2 separate regions of the Homo sapiens genome follow, and region 2 is linked to region 1. Evidence: promoter capture Hi-C in human tissues and cell types (Jung and others, 2019). All regions are on one chromosome and are shown on one strand. The core of a region is centred on a gene start or on the middle of the fragment in contact, and the rest is flanking DNA. Distances in the headings are between cores, read along the strand shown. Region 1 holds the start of TERT (telomerase reverse transcriptase). Region 2 has its middle 82 kb from the start of LPCAT1.

The links. Contacts are between HindIII fragments. The study calls those that stand out against the background at their distance.
Region 2: a fragment that was not itself captured here is called in contact with the fragment with the promoter of TERT in region 1 in 2 of the 25 tissues and cell types used here (heart left ventricle and spleen).

Annotation. Positions count from the first base shown.
Region 1 is chr5:1,293,818-1,296,517 of GRCh38, forward strand. TERT (telomerase reverse transcriptase) reads right to left here and starts at 1,251. Exons shown (of 16, transcript NM_198253.3): 1 at 954-1,251; 2 at 1-849. The coding sequence starts at 1,172. RefSeq lists promoters at 811-2,700, 811-1,502, cis regulatory regions at 816-1,172, 1,175-1,207, 1,277-1,285, 1,297-1,305, enhancers at 1,199-1,241, 1,212-1,928 and silencers at 1,338-1,407, 1,508-1,597. The HindIII fragment of the contact is 7,642 bases long and covers 512-2,700 here.
Region 2 is chr5:1,604,532-1,607,231 of GRCh38, forward strand. It overlaps the pseudogene PDCD6P1. Among named protein-coding and RNA genes, the nearest start is that of LPCAT1, 82 kb to the left of the region's middle. The HindIII fragment of the contact is 7,274 bases long and covers 1-2,700 here.

The sequences.
Region 1 (2,700 bases), core at 1-2,500:
GCCAGTCAGGCTGGGCCTCAGAGAGCTGAGTAGGAAGGAGGGCCGCAGCTGCTCCTTGTCGCCTGAGGAGTAGAGGAAGTGCTTGGTCTCGGCGTACACCGGGGGACAAGGCGTGTCCCAGGGACGTGGTGGCCGCGATGTGGATGGGGGGCCCGCGTGGTGCTGGCGGCCCACGGATGGGTGGGAGTGGCGCGTGCCAGAGAGCGCACCCTCCAAAGAGGTGGCTTCTTCGGCGGGTCTGGCAGGTGACACCACACAGAAACCACGGTCACTCGGTCCACGCGTCCTGCCCGGGTGGGCCCAGGACCCCTGCCCAACGGGCGTCCGCTCCGGCTCAGGGGCAGCGCCACGCCTGGGCCTCTTGGGCAACGGCAGACTTCGGCTGGCACTGCCCCCGCGCCTCCTCGCACCCGGGGCTGGCAGGCCCAGGGGGACCCCGGCCTCCCTGACGCTATGGTTCCAGGCCCGTTCGCATCCCAGACGCCTTCGGGGTCCACTAGCGTGTGGCGGGGGCCGGGCCTGAGTGGCAGCGCCGAGCTGGTACAGCGGCGGCCCGCACACCTGGTAGGCGCAGCTGGGAGCCACCAGCACAAAGAGCGCGCAGCGTGCCAGCAGGTGAACCAGCACGTCGTCGCCCACGCGGCGCAGCAGCAGCCCCCACGCCCCGCTCCCCCGCAGTGCGTCGGTCACCGTGTTGGGCAGGTAGCTGCGCACGCTGGTGGTGAAGGCCTCGGGGGGGCCCCCGCGGGCCCCGTCCAGCAGCGCGAAGCCGAAGGCCAGCACGTTCTTCGCGCCGCGCTCGCACAGCCTCTGCAGCACTCGGGCCACCAGCTCCTTCAGGCAGGACACCTGCGGGGGAAGCGCCCTGAGTCGCCTGCGCTGCTCTCCGCATGTCGCTGGTTCCCCCCGGCCGCCCTCAACCCCAGCCGGACGCCGACCCCGGGGAGGCCCACCTGGCGGAAGGAGGGGGCGGCGGGGGGCGGCCGTGCGTCCCAGGGCACGCACACCAGGCACTGGGCCACCAGCGCGCGGAAAGCCGCCGGGTCCCCGCGCTGCACCAGCCGCCAGCCCTGGGGCCCCAGGCGCCGCACGAACGTGGCCAGCGGCAGCACCTCGCGGTAGTGGCTGCGCAGCAGGGAGCGCACGGCTCGGCAGCGGGGAGCGCGCGGCATCGCGGGGGTGGCCGGGGCCAGGGCTTCCCACGTGCGCAGCAGGACGCAGCGCTGCCTGAAACTCGCGCCGCGAGGAGAGGGCGGGGCCGCGGAAAGGAAGGGGAGGGGCTGGGAGGGCCCGGAGGGGGCTGGGCCGGGGACCCGGGAGGGGTCGGGACGGGGCGGGGTCCGCGCGGAGGAGGCGGAGCTGGAAGGTGAAGGGGCAGGACGGGTGCCCGGGTCCCCAGTCCCTCCGCCACGTGGGAAGCGCGGTCCTGGGCGTCTGTGCCCGCGAATCCACTGGGAGCCCGGCCTGGCCCCGACAGCGCAGCTGCTCCGGGCGGACCCGGGGGTCTGGGCCGCGCTTCCCCGCCCGCGCGCCGCTCGCGCTCCCAGGGTGCAGGGACGCCAGCGAGGGCCCCAGCGGAGAGAGGTCGAATCGGCCTAGGCTGTGGGGTAACCCGAGGGAGGGGCCATGATGTGGAGGCCCTGGGAACAGGTGCGTGCGGCGACCCTTTGGCCGCTGGCCTGATCCGGAGACCCAGGGCTGCCTCCAGGTCCGGACGCGGGGCGTCGGGCTCCGGGCACCACGAATGCCGGACGTGAAGGGGAGGACGGAGGCGCGTAGACGCGGCTGGGGACGAACCCGAGGACGCATTGCTCCCTGGACGGGCACGCGGGACCTCCCGGAGTGCCTCCCTGCAACACTTCCCCGCGACTTGGGCTCCTTGACACAGGCCCGTCATTTCTCTTTGCAGGTTCTCAGGCGGCGAGGGGTCCCCACCATGAGCAAACCACCCCAAATCTGTTAATCACCCACCGGGGCGGTCCCGTCGAGAAAGGGTGGGAAATGGAGCCAGGCGCTCCTGCTGGCCGCGCACCGGGCGCCTCACACCAGCCACAACGGCCTTGACCCTGGGCCCCGGCACTCTGTCTGGCAGATGAGGCCAACATCTGGTCACATCCCGCCCGCACAGGGTGGAGGGCAACCTCGGGGTCCAGGCACCTGGCTCCAAGCCTCGGACTGCAGAGCTAGGAGGCCCGACTTCCAGCCCAGCAGTAGAAGCCACACGGCCACTGGTCCCCTCCAGACCTGGGGCCCCGGCACAACCGCAGGACAGCTGAGGACTTCCCAGGAATCCAGACTCCGGGTTGCTCAAGTTTGGATCTAAGGGGCGAGAAACTTCTGGGTCTCCCGAGGCCTTGCAGGGATGCTGTAGCTGAGGTCGGCAAACACTGAAATGCTAACAAACGCAACCTTAAATGTAACCTTTCCTACTTTCAGAAACTGCCGGAGGAAATTGCTTTATTTATGGAGCTAGCATTTGAACAGGCCTCGCACCCTCCCTGGGCTGTCACGCTCGCTGGAGGTTAGCCTCGTCTTGTAAATACTTAGGATTACAGGTCGCTCTTCTAGAAATCCCCTTAGTGATCCCTAAGCCTTTTTAAAGGGCTGTGTTTGTGAATTGTCTCTGCCACTAGGGCAAAGGGGCGGTTTGGAAAATTTGTTCCAACAAAAGTTAAGTTGTAGCTTACACTGGTTCTCTGC
Region 2 (2,700 bases), core at 73-2,572, 310 kb after region 1:
AGAAAGAGGAAAACTCTAAACACCAAGGAGCATCCCTGCCTCACCCAATTCCATCTGGTCTCCCCCATTCTTCACCGCTGTGTGCAGCAACCTAGTGTCTGCACACAAGGGTGACCTGCTCTGACCCAGCGCTGACAAGAAGCCCCAGGAGCCAAAGCCCCTGGAAGCCTCCTGGGCAATCAATCCTCTGTCTTTATGCCATGAGCTTCTTCTCCTCTGTCTTCTGCGTCCGTGGCCCTGGACTGACTGTGTGGAGCTGGATGAGACCTAAGTCCTCAAGTGAAGGCTGCACTGTGACGTGTCCTGATCATAAGTAGAAGCTTCTCTGGGCCATCTCAGCAAATAACACGGTCAAACAAGTTTTAAACCAAAGCAACACAGGTTAAAACACAAGCGAGATGTTAATGCCACAGCACAGGCACAGGGAAGCTCAGGTGCCATCTGGACGGGCACGCATGGAGTGTGCCCAGATGGTGCATTCCTGAGAGCTGGGGCCCAGGAGGAACCGGACGGCCATACTGGGGTCTTCCGGAGTATTCTAAGGATTGCCCAGGAGAGCAGAGGTTGTCCCGGGATTAATCAAGGATGAGAGAGAGGCAGCCACCCCACCAGAAAGGGCCGCTGAGGGATGGACACTCCTGATGTCTCCACTCGCCTTCCTTGCCAACCACAGCGGGGTCTGGCTTCTCCACAGAAACCAAGAGAGAACCACCACAAGGCCTAACGGCCCATAACGAGCTGAAGCACCATGGCGCACAGGCATTTCACGCCTCGGTTACATTAGGTGCTAGACATACCTGGGCAACCGCCTGAAAACCTAAGTAGATGCTGTGCTTTGCCCAAGGCCATGGAGTCACTTGTCACCAAATCCCAAGCCTTCCCCTGAAGCCCTGCCAAGGTGAGTTTTTGGTGAAAGCACGAAAGACTGCATGGGGGTCCCTGAGACCACCCTCCAACTTGAAAGGGTACAGAGTAAACCAGCCAAGGGAAAGGGCTGCCAGGGAAGCCAGGCGCTTCCAGAGTCCCTCCCAGCGGAGTCACACAGGGTGCACCGGATTCCTCCAGCAAGAAGCTGGGACAGCTAGTGCCGTGGTGCGGACCAGGGAGGCTCTCCTGAACCTGGGGGTCAGTCAGGGAAGTTCCAGCCACCCACAGCGAAAGCAGGTGTTTGCCATCCATCACCTTGTTGGTCAACTACCCAGGCAAAGTAGTGCAACATGGCTCCAGTCTCTCTCATCAGTCAGAACACTGCAGGAGCTCAGCTCCCAGGAGCCAGCCAAGGGCCCCTCCTGGGAACGTGCAGGGTTTGAGCAATCCACACCCGCTGAGTTAAACCCTTCCCACATAGGCAGATCAAATCTGCTCCATCACCAGGGGCAACAAATACCATCACCCACATCCCTGGGCCCATGTGAGAGAAGGACAGTGATGGGAATGGACATGTACTTCACAGGGCACTGTCCTGCTTCTGAGGTCTGATTTTTCTCAGTTCTCTTTAATATGGGATCTCCAAGAGAGCCTCAACTGTATTTGATTAAAAAAAAAATACCGGCCGGGCGCAGGGGCTCACGCCTGTAATCCCAGCACTTTGGGAGACCAAGGTGGGTGGATCATGAGGTCAGGAGTTGAGACCAGCTTGACCAACATGGTGAAACCCCGTATCTACTGAAAATACAAAATTAGCCAGGTGTGGGGTGCATGCCTGTAATCCCAGCTACTCAGGAGGCTGAGGGAGGAGAATTGCTTGAACCCGGGAGGTGGAGGTTGCAGTGAGCCAAGATTGCGCCATTGCACTCCAGCCTGGGCGACAGAGTGAGACTCCATCTTAAAGAAAAAAAAAACCTTCAAAAGAATATAAAAATTATTTCTTAAAGTACAGCTTTAAAAATGCCCCTTAAAAATACATCAATGTTATATTAAGGCAAACCTACTTCAGAAGCACAGAGACCTTGAAAAAAGTTAATTTCTTGTAATTCCAAGATGTTTTGGGAATGAGAAATCAGCACAGAAAATGGGCTAGGAGGATAATGGATGAAACCCGATGGGCTGATCATGGTTCCAAGATGGTCTCGCCATGGAGGTGACAGGGTGAGTGCTGCAGTGCAGGACTGGGGATGCCACAGGAACGGGTGCCCCAGGTAGGGCGTCATCCAGGAAGGATGAGAAACCTGAGAACAGCTGGGTGGGAGCAGCTGGGGGGGAGCAGCTGGGGGAGAACAGCTGGGGGGAGCAGCTGGGTGGGAGCAGCTGGGTGGGAACAGCTGGGTGGGAGCAGCTGGGTGGGAGCAGCTGGGGGGAGTAGCTGGGGGGGAGCAGCTGAGGGGGAGCAGCTGGGGGGAGCAGCTGGGTGGGAGCAGCTAGGGGGGAGCAGCTGGGTGGGAGCAGCTGGGTGGGAGCAGCTAGGGGGGAGCAGCTGGGGGGAGTAGCTGGGTGGGAGCAGCTGAGGGGGAGCAGCTGGGTGTGAGCAGCTGAGTTGGAGCAGCTGGGGGGAGCAGCTGGGGGGGAGCAGCTAGGGGGGAGCAGCTGGGTGGGGGGCAGGGTCCGCTGGCTGCACGGGGGTGGGGAGAGGAGCCCATGAGGGCCTGAGAGCAGCGAGGCCGGGCGGAACCCTAATCCCTCATCTGCACATGACATGGGGCCTGCCGGAGCCCCACAGAGCTTGGAACGGAGCTGGGGAAGAGCGTTTGCCAGGCCTCCCGT